Linked DNA regions of Homo sapiens: all the other regions are linked to region 6. Evidence: promoter capture Hi-C in 16 types of primary human blood cells and fetal thymus (Javierre and others, 2016). All regions are on one chromosome and are shown on one strand. The core of a region is centred on a gene start or on the middle of the fragment in contact, and the rest is flanking DNA. Distances in the headings are between cores, read along the strand shown.

Region 1 (3,075 bases), core at 519-3,018, 560 kb before region 6:
ATTCCTTTTATTTTGGGGTTCCCAGTGTGTTTGAGGCTCTCAAAGAGTTCCTCACTGCTCTGCCAAAAAAAGCACATGACAGGCCATTAACAGCCTCCTATGGGAAACCTGCCTCTCGGAAAGCTTGGTACGTCCTTCCCAACTTGTGTTTGACTTGAGTGAGAGAGACACAGGCCAAGGGACCAATGATTTATCCACTTCCCAGACCACGCCGAAACCAGTAAACCTCAAGCAAGACTGGACAGATTTCTTTTTGCCTTGCTTGATCTCTCCAGAGATTTCTAGTTAGGAGTGGAAATTTGGAGAAATGAAAGATAATGATATTACTTGAACAGTCATTACAGGCCATGCTTCTGGTTTACTGTTGGGAAAACTGAGGCGAGGGCTTGTGGTAAGGAATACATGAGTCCTTAAGTGAAAGTGTTCTGAAATTTTAAATGCTCATATAATACAAAGCCTGTGCCCAAGGCCAGAAATAGCTTCAGGATTACTTCAGGATTTTTGTCTTAGGCTTGGCAATTCCAGATAGTATACACTGGACCCAGATACCCTGAATTTTCTCTGGTAAATATATCTCCTCTACTTGATAGCAAGGAGTCAGGGCCAGGAAAAGTTTGGACCTCAGATGGGATGGGCTGATGTGTGATGGGTGTTTTCACCACAGACCATATTGCTTTACATTTTTCACTTCGGGATCTTTATTCATCAGGGCACACTAGGGACACATCATAGATATTGTCAAGGTAAGCCTACGGAAGGCAGGCATAATACCAGTAAATACTTCACCCTCCTCCAAAGAGCTGCAAGCACTTCCAAGTATGCTTTCAGAGTAGCTGCTTATGAAAGATCAGACCAGTTGCTACTTTTTTTTTTCACATTTTATGGAGCAACAAACTGAAAGATTAAATGACACAGACAAGGTCTGAATAATGAGTAGAGAGAATGGAACAGAACTTCCGGAGGCTTCACTCTCACTGAGTAAGACCCCACTACGACTTCCCTACGAGGTTGAGAGAGTGAGCCCAGCTAAAGCAGCCTGTAAGCTCCCTCTCCCTCAGTCACATTCTCAGGCTACAAATAACATTAACCATAGCCCTGGTTTAAATGCTTCCTGGCCTTCTCCATTTCAGCTGCAAAATTTCCAAAGATCTGTTTGATTTTCAGATCTTACTTTCAAAGTATTTGGAGAAATTTTTAAACATATACAAATGCAACTCTGAAAAAAAAACTCCACATAAGTCTATTGGCTCAATTAGTCTTTAGACAAAGGTAGTATTGTTTAACAGTTAAGAGAATGGAACTTGAAGTCAAATCTCAGCTCTGTCAGTATTTTAGTTGGTATCTTCGGGCAAGTTACACAATCACTCTAAACCCTGTTCTCATAGGCTTCTGTTTCTCTGGAGAACCCTGACTACTGCATGGGTTGTTTCTAGGATGTTAGTTCTGCTTCTCTGGAGAACCATGACTATTATATATTATATATATAATCTCATAAGAGATTTCTTATGAAAATTAGCTCACATGTTTATGGAGGACAAGAAGTCCTACTATCTGCTGTCCGCAAGCTGAAGAACCAGAAAAGCCAGTGGTATAATTCAGCTTGAGGCCAAAGGCCTGAGAAACAGGAGCTTGGATGTCTGAGAGCAGAAGCTGGATGTTCCAGCTCAAGGATAGAGAGCAAGAATTTGGCCTTCCTCTGACTTTTGTTCTATTCAGGCCGTCAATGGATTGGATGATGTCTGCCCCCCACATTGGTTAAGTGTGGATCTTCTTTACTCAGTCCACTGATTCAAATGCTCGTCTCTTCCACCAACACCCTGCAGACACACCCAGAAATAATGTTTTACCAGCTATCTGGGCATCCCTTAACCCAATCAAGCTAACACTTAAAATTAACAATCACACTACACAAGTATTTATTGAGCACATAATATATGTGGGGCCTATTCTATGTTTGAAATAGATTAGGGAAACCTACAACTAACAATAAAATTACTGAATTGCCATTGGCATCAACAACACAATGAATATTTGGTGTGAGGAGGACAGGGGGAGGATTTTTTGAAAAAAAAAATCTAAAGACCTAATTTTAAATTTCATTTCTCTCTACTTGTCATCTACCAATCCTTTAGTCACTCCCACCTAAACCACAAAGATTTTTCATCTGTTTTGTTCTTACTCTTAACTAGGATCATTTCATGATCCATATAGGCATAGGAACAACCTTGACCTCTCTGTATCTTGAACCCCAACTCCAGTGTTTGTAAAAATGTTTACTCCACTTTTGTTATCCCTTATCCCTGCTCACAGATGTTGCCTAAAGAGACTCAAGTTTTTAAGCTATGTGCATATTTATAATCATGTATTAATTCACCACATCTTTCACAAGGGTCTGCAACATCCCAGGCACTATTCTGAGCCCTAAGGATAAAGTGGACAAAACAGACCAACTTTTGCCCATGGAGTAAAAAGAGACAGACAATAAGGCAGTTAAAGTCAAAGATCACTTCAGATGGTATAAAGTCCTAAAAGAAAGATACTCGTGGTGTAGGGAGAGTAATAGGTTTGCAAGTCCTGGAAGACAGGATGTTATGTCAGTCAGGGTGATGGAGGAGGGTCTCTCTGAGGAAGAGGCATTTCGGACAGGTCTGAATGTTGAGAAGGGGCCACCATGTAAAAATGTGGGTGAGAATGTGTAAGACAGAACAGCAGATGCAAAGGCCATGAGCCCCACAAAGGATGACCTTGTGTGACTGAGGAGCAAGCAGAAGGCCAGTGTGGCTGAAAGTGAGTGAGGGGACCGTAATGGGAAATGACATTGGAGGCCCAGGCCAGGGCAGTCCAGGTAGGTATTTTAAGCCTTAGTTAAAAGTTTGAAGTTTATTCTAATTGTTAAGACATCACAAAAAGATTTTAAGTAGGGGAGTAACTTGATATAATTAAATTAAGAGATCATTTTGGCTGGTATGGAATAAAGGAAGACATAGAATGGAGTTGACAATGATGCTTACTTATCATAGTTAGTGTTTTTTCAAAAGTAGACCTTGAATAATGGACTTGGATGCTGGTAATTTA
Region 2 (3,156 bases), core at 262-2,761, 590 kb before region 6:
TAAAGGATGATTTGGTGCTAACAAAACAAAGTGTTTCAAAGGTTCCCACTTTTCAGCAGCACTCCAGTAGCATTCTCACATTTCTGTAGGGTGCTCGATCCTTTCTCTGTTACCCAGGGCCACCATGGGGAAACACTCACATCCATAGTCATCATAGATTTATATATTAACCACATGACAATATTCTGGCAACAGGCAGTAAAGTCTCTTCAGGAAAGGGCAGCTTTTCTCATTCATCTCACCATTTGAGCTCTGGTAGGGCTGCTGTCACCTTATAGCTCTGGCTGCTCCAGTCAGAGGGCCGCCAGGGTGCCTGTTCAACCTGACCCTTCTGCTCCACGTCTGAAGAAGCAGTGGAGTTGTTGCAGCTAGAGCAAGAGGAACAAGAAGAGTCAGTCAGGCCCTTTCTGTAGTTTGCAGGACACCTCAAGGATTCAAATGCATGAATCTGCAGAGATTAATGCAAAAAAACGTGATGAGGTTCCTGAATACACAGCAGAGGACTGCAGAAAGCACAGGTTGAACTAATAGCAAAATATTTGCCCTTCACATGTAAAAGTCAACATTCTCAGCTCACTTGGATTTAAAAAAAAAAATGGACTCCTTGAATGAACCAGGTATTGAGCTAATAAAGAGAATTAATAATTTTAAAAAATAGAATGGAGGAAAGTTGCTACAGAAGCTATTGGCATGCTACACAAGTGAGGGAGGCAAGAAAGCAGAAAGCCCAAAGCCACAAATGACAATCTGTATTTGAGATTATACTCTATTAATTATGAAGGTACTCTTGAGTTTTGACATTCACAGTTATGTGACTTTGAGTTAAAGCCTACAGAGAGCCTGATTCTTAACTCCAAAAGCAAAGCCATCTTTCCTACTGAACTGGTAGGCATGCCTTTTTTCAAGTGCTTGATGATTGTAACAGTTAGAATCTTTTGTGCCACAAGGTAGAAAACTCAACTAGAAGTGTGTGTGAAACAATAAGGAACAATGTAGAAAATAAGGAAAATATATTATTTCACATGACAGAAGGTAAGAATATTCAAAGGTTGGCTAATTCAATGACTTAAAGACCCAGAATCTTTCTTCTTTTTTAATTGTTATTTTTATGTTTTGTTTAGAGATGAAGTCTTGCTCTTTGGCCCAGGCTGAAGTGCAGTGGTGCAGTTACAGCCCACTGCAAATTTGAAATCCTAGGCTCAGGCGATCCTCCTGCCTCAGCATTCCGAGCAGCTGGGACTACAGGCATGCGTCACCACACTCAGCTAATTTTTAAAAACTTTTTGTAGAGACCAGGTCTCGCTATGTTGTCCAGGCTGGTCTCAAACTCCTGGCTTTAAGCGATCCTCCTGCCTTGGCCTCTCAAAGCACTGGGATTACAGACATGAGCCACCATGCCTGGCTCTTTTTTCTACTTAGCATTTTCTTTAAGCTTTTTTGTTTGTTCTCTAGTGGTTGTGAAATGGCTGCAGCAGCTCCTGGAATCATGTCTTCTTCCAACCCTTCAAGCCAAGATATCCAAAGGATGGAAGAGACAGAATCCATTTTTTGTGTGTTTATACAAAGGGGAAACTCTTTCTCAGAAGCTTTCCTTCATGTCACATTGGCTAGCACCATGTCAAGAGCCCATTTCTAAGCCAGTCACTAATAAAAATAATGAAATTACCATGGCTGGCTTAGACTGATTAAGATTCACCCCTGGGTTAGGGAGGGCCCCACCTCCCTAAAAACACATCTTCCCTTGAAAACCTGGACAAAATTACGGTTTTGTTTGCAAGGATGAATTGAGTTGGGAGGGCAACCAACAGTGTCTGCCACAACAGGAAGGTTGTTCAGCCTCACTGTTTCTCCTTACAGGCTCTGCCAACATAAATGACCGCAGCATGCTGGGAAAGCGTGACAGTGAAATGGCTGTCATTGTGCAAGATACAGAGACTGTTCCTTCAGTAATGGATGGAAAAGAGTACCAAGCTGGCCGGTTTGCCCGAGGACTTCGGCTACAGTGCTTTAGGTCAGTCCGCCAAAGTGTGTCTCTCTGATGCATTTCCACTGCAGCAGTCGCTGGGACCCAGCCCCGCTAGCCCTGAGCACATGGGTCATCCTAGGTTCTTCTTCATCTAAAACAGTGTGTCCCAGAATATAGGATATGTACCACCAGTAGTATGCGAAATGACTTTAGGTGGTACATGAATATTTTTTATTTTAATAGCTTTTTATTACTGTCACGTGCAGTAGAAAAAACTGCAGTGGTGCAGTTACAGCTCATTGCATCCTTGAATTCCTAGGCTCAAGCAATCCTCCTGGCTCAGCATTCCGAGTAGCTGGGACTACAGGCCCGTGTCACCACACCCAGCTAATTTTTAAAAATTTTTTGTAGATACCGTGTCTCGCTGTGCTGCCCAGGCTGGTCTCAAACTCCTGGCTTTAAGTGATCCTCCTGCCTTGGCCTCTCAAAGCACTGGGATTACAGACGTGAGCCAATTAAATACTAGTCCTTAACTGAATTAGGACTAGACCAGGTCAAACCCTCCAGCTTCCATTTAAGTTTTTAAAATCAAATTAATTCCAGTAATACAAGGATATAATAAAAATTATTGAAGGGGTATGCCAGTGACTGCTGGTGTAAAATTTAAATGTGGAAACTTCTGTTTTCAGGTCTAAAATGACTCCAGGTGTCGAAGATCCCTGATCTTTGGCAAGAAGATGCAAATTTTAAACTAATCTGTGGTGAAGCAGAGAGAATACTGGGCTAGGAAGCTGGGCTCGTTTCAGCTGTGCGATCCTAAATAAGTCCATTCAATAAAGTGTTATTTAGAACTTTCAAGGGCTGCGCTGTAACTGTCCACGTCCCCTGTTGTGTTTTCTCAACACAGTGGTCCCTCTAGAACCTTCTAGATCATGTTGCTTCTCTGCTCACTACTGTCCAATGGCTTCTTATCTCACAAGGAACAAGTAATATAATCTCGTCTCCTTTCACTGTTTCCCTTGCTCCCTGCAGACACTCATTTCCCCACCGGCTGTGGAACACCCTGACTACTCTCCCAACTCTAGGCCTTTGTAGGAAGTCCACAGTTTTATGATTCTAGAACTATATTTGCCATAATGCAATTTTGGTGAGGACTGTATAGTGGGATGCAGCAGGTGGCCCCGATATAG
Region 3 (3,367 bases), core at 436-2,935, 630 kb before region 6:
CCAAACTTAGGACCCCTCATATTAATAAGTATATTTTGAGGCGTGAAAAGTGCTGGAGAAGCTCTGGTTCATATCACCTGAATTTTGACCTCCCAAGCATACCTGGAACTGGCTCTGCATTGTCATTAACTCAAGATTCTATTGGGAGTCTCACAAATCTTTGCTGTTAAAATGCATCATCAACTCATTGTAATAGTATTAGACAGAAATACCCCAACATGGATAGGTAAGTTTTGTTTTCGCTTGGGTTGGAGGGTTTAAGTGTGAAGCAAGTTCTATTTCAGGAGAGCACACACAGGGGTGAGTTGCTAAAATAGAGACCACTGGATGCCACTGGTTTGGGCATGGCGGAGTAGGGAGAGTGCAGGGAAAAGAACGTGGAAAAGGAAGATGTGAGAACATTAAGAGCAGGTACCACCTTCTTCAATCCTGTGTGAACTACTATTGATTAGGAAGCTTTTTTTCATCCCAGAATTTTTAGAGCATATGAGAAAATCTGGGGACACTGAGTTTAGTTTGGGAACTTAAATTACTCTTCAAAGTGAATATAAAAATAGTTCAGAGAACTTGAAAAACCCTGAGAAAATAAAAAGTCACAATAATGGAAAAAATAAATCATAGCATAATTTCCTTCCTTATTTGAGTCTTTTCTTTCCCATTGAATTTTTTAAAGGTAGATAGGGGAATGGGTTAACTGAGGAAAACCATTCTAGCCCTGTTTTTCTTCCCCTTGGGTCCTGGCCCTCTCCCGCTCTGCACAGCAACAATTCATTAGAGACAAGCAGGGAAGAATTGGAGCTTTATTTGTTTCATGAGCCTGGCTAGAGAAACCTAAGTTAAATATAATATATTAGCTGGCTAAATGCAGTGTGGTATCCTGAATGGCATCATGGAATAGATATAGGACATTAGTGGAAAATGAGCGAACTCTGCATAAAGTCTGGAGCTTAGTAATGCTATTAGTATTATTAATTTAAACAATTATACCATAGAGATGGAAAGATGTGAAGGCTGGCTCATCTATTGCCCAGAATCATTTTGCTTCATCTCTTTTTAGTAGCATTAACATCAGCTTTTCTGGCCGGGCACGGTGGCTCATGCCTGTAATCCCAGCACTTTGAGGGGGCCAAGGCGGGTGGATCACCTGAGGTCAGCAGCTCGAGACCAGCCTGGCCAACATGGTGAAACCCCGTCTCTACTAAAAATACAAAAAAATTAGCCGGGCATGGTGGCGGGCACCTGTAATCCCAACTACTTGGGAGGCTGAGGCAGGAGAATCACTTGAACCTGGGAGGCGAAGGTTGCAGTGAGCCGAGATCATGCCATTGCACTCAAGCCTTGGTGACAAAAGTGAGACTCCATCTCAAAAAAATAAAAAAAATAAAAAATAAAATAATCAGCTTTTCTTTTTAATGTGACAGTAGTATTAAATGATGTCAGTAACGCCATGTAGGTATACATAGTTGGGACATAGACCTGGTTGACACTCCTCTAGTCAAGATAAGCAGTCAGCATTCATCCGACTCTTCCAAAAAAGGAGAAGTAAAGGACATGACATGTAGCCAGTCTGTGTTTACAGCTGCTGAGGCATGCTAAGCTTCTTTATAATATGAATTCAGAAAAAGAAACATGGTTTGGTTGCCAATGAGATTTTGATTGTCTGATGCCCTAAGGGGAATCACATTCTCAAAAGACTTTCTGCACCGTGTCTTCCTGTAAGTTTGTCTTCTGGAGGCATTTTACAGATTTATGCACTTAAGTATAAAAGCTTATATAGTCATAAAAATGATAATGCCACAAAGGGATGATAATTACGAGTTGTTACATATATATCTCTTTACCTTGAGATGATTAGCAAATATTACTTTGTGATAATTGTCCTTATAAATTACAGATGTGTTATAACAATCTATTCTATTTGAACACATAACATTAGTAATATTTGCACCAAATTTTTCACATTCCTTTATGCAGCAACAAAATATTTTGCATTGTTATGATAATGTTGTAACTTGTTTTCTAGTAACAGTTTTAAAGACTATTTTGTAGATATATAAATAGCAGAAGTACTTAGAGGAAAAAAACATTTTTTATTTTATTAACTGGCTTATATATATGCAACATACAAAAGAGAGTTGAGGCTACTTAAAATAGAAGTTCAGAGATAATAAGAGACCCAGACAAACAAGACAAGGTGAAAGCAGATACCAGGAAATAATGGAGAAAGGGTGGAGAAAACTAGACCAGGCTTTACCATCTACTCTGTTAAAAAAGCAAGCTTAGCATGAGATAGAATGTTTGCCAATATAGAATTTTTAATCATAAGCATTTATACAACATGTGAATCTGAAAAAAACTAGTTTCCCCATTGATTAAATTTGCAGTGTTCCTAAGTATTCTGAGAATGTAATTTAGAAAATCACCTATAAGGAATTCTCATGGTGAAATAATATAGTGTAACTTTCCACTTGATTAAGTGTTACAGGTGATATGACCTGGAATCAGATGAGACCCTGAGTGAGATGAGGCGGCTTTTTTTCTGTGTCGTTGACTTTCTTGATGTGATTTCAGTGATCAGAACACATCTGCTGTGTGAAACATTTTAAAAAATATATTACAGTATTGTTCTTACGTATATTGCTAAGAAAATAAAGACTAACATGATTGTCTTGTTTATTTCTCATAGAACCAGTTTTTCATAAGCTGTGCTGATGACAAAGTTGTGTTCAACAAGATAGGCGATGCCATTGCCCAGAGGATCCTGAAAGCTCACAGGTAACAGCCTTTGGCTGAGAGTTCTCGCTGCAGATGTTCTTGTATTTATTACTAAAATGACTTTGCAAAGCCCATTTTTAAAGTACTGTCATTTCCTAGCAGCTTAAATTTGGTTCAGCCAGCAATAGGTTATTGATGCCTTTAGTCTGAGTCAGTTGCTAAAGATTTTTGACTGCCCTTTCTAGGGAATTTGAATTCTTCCAAGGCACAAAAATTTCTTCCTGGCCAGTCTGTTTCCCACACATGAGGTTTGTGATTTGTTTTATTTAATAGCAGACTATGAGCTGTGTTCGCTTAAAAAAGCAAAACAGACATAATATTTTGCTATGGGTTATATTTAAATTCTTGTTACCGTATGTCATATTTATTCAGCTCATGGGATTTTTTTTTTAATAATTGGTTTGCTGAGATAGAATTTACATACTGTATAATCCAGCCACTTAAACTATACAATTCAGTGATTTTTAGTGTATTCACAGAGTTGCACAACCACCACCTAATCAATTTTAGAACATTTTCATCCACTCAGAAAGAAACCCCATTAGCAGTCATTACCCATTCCTTCTATTTTTAGCCTCTGGCTACCACTGAT
Region 4 (3,392 bases), core at 93-2,592, 650 kb before region 6:
TATAGATGAGCAAACAGACCTACCCGTACTTTGGCCTTTCAGTCTCATAAAGCAGGAAAATAAATCACTGGGAGAAGTCAATAGAAGTCTATTTTTAACATGATTTCATTTTGCTAATCTATGGCATTTTAAATCATTTTTCTTCTGTAGAAAACTTTAATAGCCTTTGAAAGGTTAATGATTCAGTTTGAGATAGAATATTAGCATTGTGTGTGGTGATTACATAAAAACATTTGTTCTGCAAATATTTATTGATTGCCTGGGTGCTTGGAGCTACTGGCAGTGAGAAGATTTGGTTCCCACTCCCAAAGAGTTTATAGACTGGTGAGGCATTGATGCGGGCAGGGGAGCATCCTGATACAATTGCGTCACAGAGTCAGAGGTGTTGGGGCAGTTGTTAGTGGGATGACAGCAGTGCTAGTGACTGCCTCTTCCTTATGGGGAGATGGCAGGTGATAGCTAATGTGGCTCTTGAAGGATGATTAGGATATCAGGCCAAGAGGGAGAAAGGAGCATTTCAGGTAGAAGTAATAATGTGCCAACTGCATGGAGACATGGCAGTCCACACCTGTTATAATACAGTGAAACACGTGATTTGCATGGGGCCTGGGGTTGGGTGGGGAAAAACAAGGACTAGAAAGATAGATTGGCACCAGTTTGGGAAGAGTCTTCTATGCACACTAAGCCCTTAGGACTTGAGCTTCCTATAGGCAGTATGTGAACCTTCCAGGGTTTTAAGCAAAGAGTGCATTTTACAAAGACAGTTCTGGGACAGTGTGTTGGTGGCAGGACCAGTGTAGTCCTCTCACTGGCTACTGCAAGCAGTACCATTTATTCATTCAACACATATTTTTGCATTCAGTGTCTATTTGTTAAATGCCTCTTTTGTGCCAAGTGCTGCGTTTGTGATTTGTAATTCTGCATCTTTTTACTTCATTGTCTTTGTATTTAGCCGTAAGTCAATGGTCTCGGCACAGTTATTTGTGAAATGCTATAGTAGATTGCTGCTTTTGCACCTATATCATAAGCTTTCATCTGTTGTTACCATATTTTTTATAAATGCCATCTATGATTTGAAGTATATAAATGTTAAAGCGCAACAGATTTTAGCTGTTATCTAGGCCAAATTCTTCATTTTACGCATAATGGATTTATGATCTAAAAAACTGAAGCTCAGTGTCACTTAGCTAATTAATTCCAGGGCTGGAACATGGGCTATCTGTAAATTTGAGGTTCTTGCTTTAATGCAAAAGAATTATGCATCAGGTGTGCACCATGTTGGTTGAGGAAAAAGAAGTGGCATGGTGTCTTTATTGCCCCTGCGTCTCAGGTTTCTCCACCTCTCCCCTCCCCGCCCTTCCCACTCTGCCCCTGAAAGCCCCCCACCAGCTTTACTGCTCTCATAGTGCCACCTTGTGAGTTCTTTATTCACAGTTAATTCTGTGATAGTTCTTCCAGTGATCTGGTAGGTGGTGGAAATAAGTTACTCAACTGCCTGAGAAGGTCAAATTTCATTGTTTAATGATGAATCTTGTTGTAGCCCTAACTGCCCACTAAAAGTAAACTTGTAAGGACTGTAAAACCTTGTTAGCCCACAGCCTGTAATAGAATGGACAGATGCCACCCTAGTTGTGTCTTAAGAAATTAAGAAGCTTTTAGGTGTTTAATAAATGAGAGTTGAGCCTCCCTTTCTGGGACTCACCTGAACCACAGTCTCTGAGGGGGTCTTGCTGCATTCACAGATACCGGGTCCATCCGTAGTTTACAGACAGGTGTGGGAGAGCTGCATGGGGAAACCAGATTCTGGCATGGAAAGGACTACTGCAATTTCGTCTTCAAAGACTGGGTTCAACTTGATAAACCTTTTGCTGGTGAGTATCATAATGGTGGGGTGCTGGTTATATTTTGTCTTTTACCTTTGAACATCTCAGCAAGTATACATGTGCATGATCTAAATGCCTTTTGTTTTGCTTCCGTTGATTTTTGAAAATTTTTTAAAACTTTGGAGACTAGATTTAGTCATTAGCATGTGCTTAAGGACTTTTTTTTCAGTTATAATAAGAAAAGAACATGAAATAGAGCTGAACTGTCTGAAAAATCCAGATTTTTATAGGCATATTTTGGGGGCAATAATCAGTAATTTTTCAGGAAATGGTAGGCTCCCTTTGATCATCTTCTATTCTGCTTATTTCCTGCATTTCCAGCGTTAGAATGGCATATTTTCAGGTTATCACTGGGTTTATATGTTTAAGAGGAGATAGAGATGGCATTGCCTGCCATTGTTTCAACAGGATAAAAAATAAAAAATATAATATCAAATACACAGCCTTAGATAATTTGTACCAACTCACATCTTGCCATGTCTAGTGATTATCTAATCCTAAGTGAAACGGAAACATATGTGGGGAAGTGCCTGGGAGACTATGTCCCTGAATGTGAAATCTGTTTCCCTTGATTATAAAAATGTTGTTCTATGCAAGCCAAGAAATATATACCTAGTGGGCACTAACCCACGTTTCCTTTTAGTTTCATAGTTGGAGTCAGAGAGACTTTGCCCCAACACTGAAGTTAATGACTGATCCTTGCCTGGTGCACCCGGGCAGATTTCATTGACAGGTACTCCACGCCCCGGATGCCCTGGCATGACATTGCCTCTGCAGTCCACGGGAAGGCGGCTCGTGATGTGGCACGTCACTTCATCCAGCGCTGGAACTTCACAAAAGTACTTGGATGTTGCTATCATGATTTATCCACATGAAGAGAGGCAGGCCTAACTAGAGAAGAGGTTTAGAGGAGGCTGGTAGCAAGAAGAGACTGTTGTGGCCACAACTGTGTCACTGCTCTGCTGTTGGCTGCATTGATGTCCGGGTGCCTGGGCATCTGGGCAAAAAAAAAGGGAAACATTCCCGAATGTCCACACCATAGACAATTCAGAGTGCCTAGGGACAGGTGCTGCTGTGTGGGTCCTGATTTTAACCTTGTTAACATCTTGGACACAGTGTTGACTAAGCATTTAGTAGCCTGGGCTCGGTAGTCATTTGCAGGGCTGTTATAGGGGGATAGGAGCCTGGTTTAGATGAGAGGGCTTGAGCTTTAAAGTCCCATCCAGTTGGATGGGACTGGAATTGCACTGGGTTTATATTGGTACAGGATTCTGAGAGCTGGTTCTGAGCAAACCAAGAAGTATTAAGAAGGTGGGGCCATTTTCCTTTTATCCAGATTGTGTCCTCATTACTTGTAAGAACTTGACATAACATTCAAACCTAACATTCATAAGTTAAGTACGTATCATTCAGGCCAGGCACGGTGGCCCACGACTGTAATCCTGGCACTTTGGGAGGCCTAGGCTGGTGGATCACCTGAGGTCAGGAGTTCGAGACCAGCCTGACCAA
Region 5 (3,042 bases), core at 214-2,713, 540 kb before region 6:
AAACACAAATGCTTCTTAAGGATTAAGCCTGGAACTGGTACATGGTCACTCTGCTCGCATCCTATTGGCCACAGGAAGCAAAATATTCAAACCCAACATCAATGCCTCTAGTGGAGGAATTCAAAAGCCACATGGTAATGGCTGTGCCTACAAGGCTATAAAAATTGGAGCCAATAAGTCAGTATACCAAAATGTCTAACATGGTTGCTATTCCCTTACAGTATATAGCACCAAGTCAATAGTTATCTGGTTTGCTCTAAGATATCTGTAGCACTCTGAACTCATCTGTATTTCTTTGTTTGCATTCTTCTGGTGACAAACAAGCACATCTAATAACTGCTCCTTCCTCAGATTCTGGTTTTCCTCAACAGAAAGATTTCTGGAACTCATTCTGACTTCAGCCTTCTTAATATACTGCTTGGGTGAATATAAAAGCAGTTCATGGAAGATTCATCTGCCCTGCACCAGATGAAGTAGGAGCCTTCAGTTTTATGGGGGGGGGGGGGGGGAGAAATTCCCTGATTTAAATATTTTTAAACATGCTGTTTTATTATTTTAGATATGATGGCTTTGTTGAATCTCTGATATATTTTCTTGCAACAGAATATGTATCTCATTCCTTTGTTTTCCCAGAGGCTTAATACAGCTCTGGCCATGTGTTCCTAACTACAAATCAAGGTAGATATGCTGACAAGGAGACTTTTTAAAATTGGCAATTACTGCATTTGACATATTGTCTATTACTGATCATTTGTATTCTTCATATTTCCTCTCACAAGGTATTAAATTTTGATTAAACCCAAGGACCTCTGACTGTCATCCATTAATAGGGAGAATTCTGTAGAGTCCTAGACAACATTTTTATATGCAAAATGAGTTAGTAACCTATCATGCTGATTGGTCCAGTGTGGATCCCCCTAAGTCCTAACCACTCCCTTGAGATTAGCACTAAATCTTTCCACCAGCCTACAACATTCTGGGTGACAAGCAATATTTTTTAATGAGGTTCCACTTACACAAACATTTTTATCATCTCTGAAGAAAATTTATACTTCTTTTTGCCAGAATCTCAGGCCAGAAACATCCAATGAAATGATGTAAAAGGTTCTCAGGAATAACAGAAGTCAATGTCACTGTTCCTGGGTTTGTCAAGCACAATCCAATCTTACAAAAATAACATCAGAACTCACTGTGTGCCAGGCCATATGCTAAGTGCTTTCCATAAAGCATCTTAGCAAATCCTCACAACAGCCTTGTGAGATAGGTACCATGGCCTCCAGGGATACTGATGAGAACTTTGACCTTGCAGTCCTTATAGATATTAACAGAGCCTGGATTTGGACTCAAATGCATCTGACCACATAGTTTATTTTTCACTTTGAAATGTCCCCTTCACCTCTATCTTCATGATGGGGAGAGATCATAATGGTACTTCAATCTCCAACCTCAGATGTGTTACCAAGGTCTGCATCGGCTACATATTGTATTGATCCAACATTAAGAAACACCTTAAAAACTGTCATCAAATACTGCTAAACTATCAGAGCAAATCCTGAATAATTTTCCCCATGCTTCTTCTGTGTCTCTGGAAGAATACGATACCAAGAACTCCTTGGTTCCTGGGTACACATTGAATCCGGGGCCCAGGACCCAGATGCCTTTCCCTTAGGCATCTCCTGATTGTTTATTCTATTTTTTTCTCCTCAATACACATAATTCATATAATCACCCTTCTTCCACATGTTTTATTCACTTCCCTGTTTACTAATTAAAGTTTCTTACTTAGAAAAACAACTTCCATGCAAATATTCATAGCAATATTTTTCAAAATAGCAAAAAACTGGAAACAACCTAAATGTTCATCAACTGGTGAATGGACAAATATAATTGGTATATCAATACAAGGGAGTACTACTCAGCAATCAAAACGAATGAAATACTGATAAATGCTGCAACTCAGATAAACCTCAAAAATATTATGCTAAGTGAAGAAGCCAGATGCAAAAAAACCCCACACATTTTATTATTCCATTTATATGAAATTCCAAGAAAAAGCACATCTATGCAGACAGAAAAAACTCTGGTGACTTCATGGGGCTGGGTGAGAATGGGGATTAACTGTAAAAAAGAGAGACTCTTGGCTGGCACAGTGGTTCATGAGTGTAATCCCAGCACTTTGGAAAGCCAACACAAGAGGATCGCCTGAGGTCAGGAGTTCAAGACCAGCCTGGCCAACATGGCGAAACCCTGTCTCTACTGAAAAATACAAAAATTAGCCAGGCGTGGTGGCAGGTGCCTGTAATACCAGCTACTAGCTGTAATACTAGCTACTCAAGAGGCTGAGGCAGGAGAATTGCTTGAACCCGGGAGGTGGAGGTTGCAGTGAGCCGAGATCATGCCACTTCACTCCATCCTGGGTGACAGAGCAAGACCCTGTCTCAAAAAAAAAAAAAAAAAGAATCTTGTTGGGGGGATAAAAATGTTCTAAAACTGGACTATGGGGATGGTTGCACAACTCAGTAAATTCACCAAAAACTATTGAACTGCACACTTTAAATTAGTTAATTTTAGAGTATATAAACTGTACCTAAATAAAGTTTAAAAAATAATCCATGGATAATAATTTTTGATCACATAAAAAACTGATCAAATTCTTTGGACAGTAAGCCAGCGGAAAAATTGATTTTTTATCAGTACACTAAAGGTAGAAATTCCTACCTCAAAGACAATTATTTGGATATCAAATCAGATATTAAAATTTAAGTGTTTTGAAAACTGAAAAACGGTTAATTGATGAAAGATTCCTTAGGTTCAGTGGTGAATGGAAATTATCTCATTCTGTCCTCTAGGTGGTGCTAGAATCTAAAAATGAGCAGCCTCACGGTAAATGCGGCAGCTTTGTACAAAATTACCTTTCTTTAATAGGTGACATCCCTAAAGGGAGTTCTCAGTCCAATTGTCTTTTAGTCCAGAGCCTTCTCCTGAATTAACCTCAGGATAACAGACATCCAACTTCAGTTCCAGTCTTCCAGCTATACTGAT
Region 6 (2,973 bases), core at 406-2,905:
CTCAAGGCAAATTCCGTTTCTGAAAAGGCAGGTTCAAAAGACAAAGGTTGGTAAACCACACCGGTATCATTTACGACGCGGCACAGAGACGCTTTCCTGCAGAATGTCATGTCACTGGCAAATGCCATGGAACCGCTCCTGACTGTGGACCGCTCTGGCAATGGGGCGTGCTCATCACCAGCCAAAACTGATGCGGAAAGTCAGCGTGGCTAACTGGGCGCTTTAAAGTCTGACTTCAAAGCTGCTCCCCAAAGCTTGGCACTATGACACAGAGCACCTCATGTTATGACTAAACGAGTTAATCCATGTCAAGTGCTGAGAGCAGCACCTGGCACCCGGCAAGACCTCAGTAAAGATTAACCATCATTACTATTAATATTTGCTCACGCTTTTCCACTATGAAATTATTGTATTGTGTCTGCATTACATATGTCTCATCTTATATGTTATAAACACCTAGAAAGAGGAGGCTGTGACTTATTTATCTCAGTCATCTCGGAGCATGGAACTGTGCTGGACTCAGTAAAAGTTTGTAGTTTGATTGAATTACCTTCTCAAACCAAACATTTCAGGTGTGTCACCTTGCAGAGGTGACAGAAATGAAAACAGGGTGGCAAAATAAAAAGGTGAAATCTGAATCTCCTCTAATCCTTCATTTTCTCACCCTGTTTCTTCATAACACCCCTCATTGTGTTGCTGCTTGTTACATTTTTGTTCCGCTGGGAACTGGTTCCATTTGAGCCTCAGTGCAATCTGTGGCCCCAGTTGCCACACACACTTAAAGCTCAATAAATTTGATATCTCCTGAACCCCCACAGGGTTTGGATATCATAAGGGATACTTAGGCCCAAGATCAAGCCATATGAGCAGGTTTATTTGAGAACTCTACGTTAAAGCCTCCAGCAAGTGCTTCTTGACATATATGAAGCAATAATAATAACAACCGCTATTTGCTAAGTACTTATTATATGTTGAGATATGCCAAACACTTTCACATATTATCTCATTTAATCCACTCAACAAAACAAAATGTGTGTTATTTCTATTTTATCAGGCAAAAATAAAAAACTAATCAGAGAAAAGTCACAGTGAGCCACTTGCTTAAGGTTATACTCCCCAGTAAAATGTTGAGATTCAAACCCAAGTCCCTAACAATCCAAAGCTCATCCAGGTAACCATTCAAGTCAACAATGGTCTCCGGCCACACAGCTCAGCTCTAAACAGAAACACCACAGCACTAATTATCTGTGGAGCAGAGTGCAGTGTGCCTCCCATGCTCCACAGCACAGCACGGCAGCTCAGCATATCTCATCTTCTACAAAAGACTCCAAAGATTTCTCTTTTCACCAGCTCCCAATTACTGCCACATAACACATGCCTTGAAATGTGATTGCCTCTGGTTTGTAACTTATGCCTAAGGGACCTGCTCCCATTTTCTTTCCTAGTGGAACAAAGGTATTGAAGCCACAGGTTGCTGAGGCAAAGCACTTATTGATTAGATTCCCATCAATATTCAGCTGCCGCTGAGAAGATTAGACTTGGACTCTCAGGTCTGGGTAGCCCAACTCCTCCCTCTCCTTGCTCCTCCTCCTGCAATGCATAACTAGGCCTAGGCAGAGCTGCGAATAAACAGGCAGGAGCTAGTCAGGTGCATGTGCCACACTCACACAAGACCTGGAATTGACAGGACTCCCAACTAGTACAATGACAGAAGATAAGGTAAAGCAGCATTATATTCATTTCAAGTCTGGTTTTCAGGAGATAGTTAGGGGAATACAGTCAAGTCATACAGAGGATTTGGGGGAGGTTGGGTGTAGCTACCACAGATCAAAATTAATTCTCTTTACTTTGCCAATTGAAGAACTGTTTCTTATTCAGTAATTGGGGTTTTAAGGATTTTTGCTCTGTTAACTGACTAGTCTGCATAAGTTTTTTCAAGTAATTGTGCATAACCATATTACTAAAGAAATATGTCCCCTCCTAACCAAAAAAAAAAAAAAAAAAAAGGGGGCAGATTGACCTAAATTTAATCATGAAAACTCATCGGGAATCTTCAAAAACGTCAATGCAGGAGAGACAAAAGAGGTAGAAGGGTTGTTCTCTAGATTAAAAGGGATTAAGACAAACTGACAACCAAATGCAACAAATGATTTAGATTGTGGAAGGAAGAAAAAAATAGCAATAAGGGAACTATGGAGACGTTGGGAAATTTTAAATATGGGCTGCATCTTAAATAATATTACTGTATCAATTTCACACTCTTGGATATAATAATGGTATCTAATTATGTAGGAGGATGTCTTTGTTCTTTGTACATGCTAAAGTATTTAGGGGTGAAATGACACAAATATCTACAGCTTATTTGTAAATGGTTCAGCCAAAACAACACACACACACAAACACTACAGAGCGAGAGATCAACAAATTGGTGAATGTTAACCAGTGGTGAATAAAGGCGAAGGTTATGGAATGATCACTTCACTACTGTTTCAACTTCTCTCTAGATATGATACTTTAAAAAAAAACTTAAAAATATAAAGGATATAGTGTCCTTGCTCCCTTATACGTGGTTTCTAAACTCACCCACCCCTGTACACACAATCATATAAGTTGATCAATCTGTGCCCTGTAGGGTCTCACCTTTAAGTTCTCATCTGGTGCAACTTACTCTGCTGAACATTCCTTCATGTCATTAGATGGCATGGTTAGCTGCACTGGCTTTGGAGTCAGCCAGACTTGGATCTGGGTTCTAGCAATGCCACTAAACTGCTGTGAGGCCTGGGTTAAGTTATTTAACTGAGCTTTGGGTTTTCTCTATTGTGAGAAAACAAAAACATATTAGGATACAATATACCCTTTATAGGCAAAGAAACTTGGGCTCAGTGATATAATATGGGATATTCAGGGATTATACTAGTACTTTAGAGTTAGGGAGTAATTAAATGAGATTATATTAGAGAGGCTTAGACAACA
Region 7 (3,251 bases), core at 87-2,586, 780 kb before region 6:
GTGTGCACAAGACTTATCAGACCATCTGTGACTAATAAAGCTTGAGAAAGAGGGGAGGAGAGAGGGTATTCTGCCTTCCAGTAACATGCTTGTCTGAAACTTACTAAACTCCTCTTAGGCAATACTCTGCTCAGAGAGTCATGTGTTTAATTGTAAAAATCTGTCAGTATCATAGGATTCAAAAGACATCAATCATTTATGTCAACAAGGAAAGAGTGAGGGCTGTGTGACTCTTCTATCATTAGGAAAAGATGTGCTCAAGAGACAAAAATGTGGTCTAAGGAGGGCTGAGCAACTGTAGGTTACAGGAAAACTGAGTTCCAGACTATAATTTGGCCCCCCTCCCCTAATTTGGACTGGTATATTATATTTTTCATTTCATGCAATGCCATGTGTGCAGTAAGACATTATGTAACTTGGTCAGTCGCAGTTGTGTAATATCCACTAAATGCTTTAAAGTGGCTGACGTTATTAGCAGTTTGGTGCATGGGGAGGCCATTGCTTCCCCTGGCTTTGGCGGGATGCAATATCGTGTAATGAGGTTGGAACTGGCCTATATTCAAAATTACATTCCCAAAGGGCTGCTATTCAAGCCACATGACAACTGGTTCTCTTTTTCTTAAGACTTTATTCTAAGTGGACTGAAAACAGCAAAATTGCCGTGTTTGAACGGTTCCATAGGTGGAATGGGTCTTTTCCCTGTTTTGCTCCCAATTTATTATTTTATGCTAAGATTTCTGAATTATAACCAGTTTTAGAGACATCGGGACACAAATTCCCGTCCCCCTCCATCTAAGCTGTGTGACCTCGGGCTGGTTCTGAGCCTTCATTTCCTTACCTGTAAATTGGCGATAACACTTCCCTAAGGAGGTGCAAGAAGGCTTATAAAGACTCCAGCAAAGCTCCAGTCTCTTAATTATGTCACCTCAGGCAAGTTATTTAGCCGTTTGATTTGCTGATTCCTTACTTATAAGTTGGACCAGTTGTGGCTACTATCCGCAGTAGTCGAAGAATAGATATCATAGGCAAAGCTCCGGGAAAGGTGGCTGGTCCTTGGCGGCTCGAGAGGACCTGATAATGGTCCTAATAGCGAGCATTCCCTAGGGTGATGCGGTCGAGTTATGAAACTTTGGGAAAAGAGAACAAGGAACGCGGGCGATCAGAGGCCCAGTCGCGAGACCTGCCCCGCTGGGGCCTCCAGCCGGCACCGCGACGCCCCGGGACCTGGCACCGCCTCGCTCCACCCCTGCGAATCCGGGGCGAATCCGGGCGGAGAGTTCCTGCCGGCCGCGCAGCGCAGAGCCCCCTCCGGCCCGCCCTCTCTCCCTCCCTCCCGCTGAGCTCCAGCTGTGCCAGAGGCACCCGAGCCCTGAGAGTCCGCCGCCAACGCGCAGGTGCTAGCGGCCCCTTCGCCCTGCAGGTAGGAGCCGCGCCGAGACCCGGATCACCGGGCGCCCGTGGGAGCCGGGTTTCCACTGCCCTCGCCCTCCGTCCCTCCTCCGCCCAACCTGGGCAGCTGGCCGCTCCCCGCCCAACTTGGACGGGATTTCAGCGAGTGAGTCGGCGGCGGACTCCCTAGCGATCCCCAAGGGCCTCCCTCGCACGCCTTCGGGTGGAATTCCTGCAGGGTGAAAGCTGACAACTCTGGCACGCACTTTTGCCGCGCGGGCGGCTGCCTGGAGCGCAGAGCCGCGCAGGCTCAGGCTGAAGCCCAGGCGTCCTCTGCAGGATGCACCGCCTCGCCGCCACAGGGCTTCGGGTGCAGTGTGTGTGGTGTCCCCAGGTCATCCGGGCGCCCTTGGTTCGGGTGCGCGGTGGCATGACTGGGCTGGTGGGGGCGATGGGACCGGCATCCCGTACCAACCAGGAAGTGCCGCGTCCCAAGGCTTCGAGCCCAGCCCGCAGAGCACGGTCCTGGGGGTGTGATCACAGCTGCTGACCGCGGCTCCCGCCGTGTGATGTGACCACTCGGAGGTGGGGCGAGGGGGCCGGGGGCCAGCAGCAGGGAGTGTGTAAAAGGTCTTCTTCCTCACAATACGATTGAAGGTGTTTGGGACGTAGGGCTCAGATCCAGGAGTGCCGTCCTCCAAGCCTTCCATAGGATTTTGTGACGCCCTTGAGAACCGCCCTTGTAGACTCAGTCCTGAACTACCGCCACGCCTGTATTTGCTCCTCCTCATCTCGGATTATTGCTTTCTTTACTTCCTCTGTGAAGCACTAAATACTAGTAGCTTTTTAAGAACAGACCACAACAGTTTCTTCGTTTGACCATTACTAAGTCTGCCTCCAAAATGGGGAGTTCCGTTAACTTTATCAGCCAGCCCTGCCAATTTTAGTTAAGATAAGCCTTCGTGGGCCTCCAAAGGCCTCTGAGAGACTAGGTACCCAGAGACCTCTGAGGTATGTTAAATGGTTTAGTTCGTGGTGGTGCAATGAAAACTTAAAGAAGGAAAGGAATCTGCAATTTGAACTGTTAACAGACCCCACATTTACACACTGCCTATTTGAATAAGAATCTCTTTCAGTATTAAATGTTTTGTGACACACAAATGAATTTGTACACAGTCTTTTAGCTTGAATTTGTAGACAGCCTTTAAATGTTGTTTGGGGATCTTTGGACTAATTGTATAAGCGCTCAGTCTGGCTTCTCAAGAACCAGTACAGTTAACAATCCATATAAAAAGTTGGAGTGCTGCCTGGGCGCGGTGACTCACGCCTGTAATCCCAGCACTTTGGGAGGCTGAGGCGGGCAGATCACCTGAGGTCAGGAGTTTGAGACCAGCCTGGCCAACATGGTGAAACCCCGCCTCTACTAAAAATACAAAAATTAGCCAGGCGTGGTGGCACACGCCTGTAATCCCAGCCACTCGGGAGGCTGAGGCAGGAGAATCGCTTGAACCCGGGAGGCGGAGGTTGCAGTGAGCCGAGATGGAGCCATTGCACGCCAGCCTGGGCGACAGGGCAAGAATCTGTCTCAAAAAAAAAAAAAAAAAAAAAAAAAAATTGAATGCTAAGGCTTTGAGGAAAAAGTGTCTTTACAATGTTTGTCCCTGATGACAGAATAATTATGAACTATAGTAAGCGCTGTACAATGCTCATTTAGGTTTGTAGACTTACTTATAACCAGGTAGTGGGGAACCCGGCTTCTTGGAAGTTGTATGTTTACTTAGTGTTTCTTAATTAAAATTACAAATTTTATTTACCTTTAACTCTTATAGGTAACTTTTATTTTTGTTACAAAGGAAAAGTAG

Evidence for each region. The method cuts DNA at HindIII sites, captures the fragments that hold promoters and counts their contacts. A CHiCAGO score of 5 or more calls a contact.
Region 1: a fragment that was not itself captured here is called in contact with the fragment with the promoter of SLC2A2 in region 6 in 5 of 17 cell types (M1 macrophages, M0 macrophages, endothelial precursors and 2 more); the score reaches 8.2 in M1 macrophages.
Region 2: a contact is called between a fragment that was not itself captured here and the fragment with the promoter of SLC2A2 in region 6, in 2 of 17 cell types (M1 macrophages and M0 macrophages). The highest score is 5.6, in M1 macrophages.
Region 3: a fragment that was not itself captured here is called in contact with the fragment with the promoter of SLC2A2 in region 6 in 1 of 17 cell types (M2 macrophages); the score reaches 5.3 in M2 macrophages.
Region 4: a fragment that was not itself captured here is called in contact with the fragment with the promoter of SLC2A2 in region 6 in 2 of 17 cell types (non-activated CD4 T cells and fetal thymus); the score reaches 6.3 in non-activated CD4 T cells.
Region 5: a fragment that was not itself captured here is called in contact with the fragment with the promoter of SLC2A2 in region 6 in 4 of 17 cell types (fetal thymus, M2 macrophages, endothelial precursors and 1 more); the score reaches 6.9 in fetal thymus.
Region 7: the fragment with the promoter of PLD1 here is called in contact with the fragment with the promoter of SLC2A2 in region 6 in 3 of 17 cell types (activated CD4 T cells, total CD4 T cells and megakaryocytes); the score reaches 8.3 in activated CD4 T cells.

The regions. Positions count from the first base shown.
Region 1 is chr3:171,587,057-171,590,131 of GRCh38, reverse strand. No RefSeq gene overlaps it. Among named protein-coding and RNA genes, the nearest start is that of TNIK, 130 kb to the right of the region's middle. The HindIII fragment of the contact is 3,285 bases long and covers 126-3,075 here.
Region 2 is chr3:171,611,134-171,614,289 of GRCh38, reverse strand. It overlaps PLD1 (phospholipase D1), which reads left to right. Exons shown (of 27, transcript NM_002662.5): 25 at 1,858-2,011. Among named protein-coding and RNA genes, the nearest start is that of TNIK, 150 kb to the right of the region's middle. The HindIII fragment of the contact is 154 bases long and covers 1,435-1,588 here.
Region 3 is chr3:171,658,621-171,661,987 of GRCh38, reverse strand. It overlaps PLD1 (phospholipase D1), which reads left to right. Exons shown (of 27, transcript NM_002662.5): 21 at 2,687-2,775. Among named protein-coding and RNA genes, the nearest start is that of PLD1, 150 kb to the left of the region's middle. The HindIII fragment of the contact is 171 bases long and covers 1,600-1,770 here.
Region 4 is chr3:171,676,045-171,679,436 of GRCh38, reverse strand. PLD1 (phospholipase D1) reads left to right here. Exons shown (of 27, transcript NM_002662.5): 17 at 1,743-1,871; 18 at 2,604-2,722. Among named protein-coding and RNA genes, the nearest start is that of PLD1, 130 kb to the left of the region's middle. The HindIII fragment of the contact is 624 bases long and covers 1,031-1,654 here.
Region 5 is chr3:171,566,829-171,569,870 of GRCh38, reverse strand. No RefSeq gene overlaps it. Among named protein-coding and RNA genes, the nearest start is that of TNIK, 110 kb to the right of the region's middle. The HindIII fragment of the contact is 5,033 bases long and covers 1-3,042 here.
Region 6 is chr3:171,025,402-171,028,374 of GRCh38, reverse strand. SLC2A2 (solute carrier family 2 member 2) reads left to right here and starts at 1,655. Exons shown (of 11, transcript NM_000340.2): 1 at 1,655-1,719. The coding sequence starts at 1,705. The HindIII fragment of the contact is 3,598 bases long and covers 257-2,973 here.
Region 7 is chr3:171,808,568-171,811,818 of GRCh38, reverse strand. It overlaps PLD1 (phospholipase D1), which reads left to right and starts at 1,336. Exons shown (of 27, transcript NM_002662.5): 1 at 1,336-1,420. The HindIII fragment of the contact is 4,859 bases long and covers 43-3,251 here.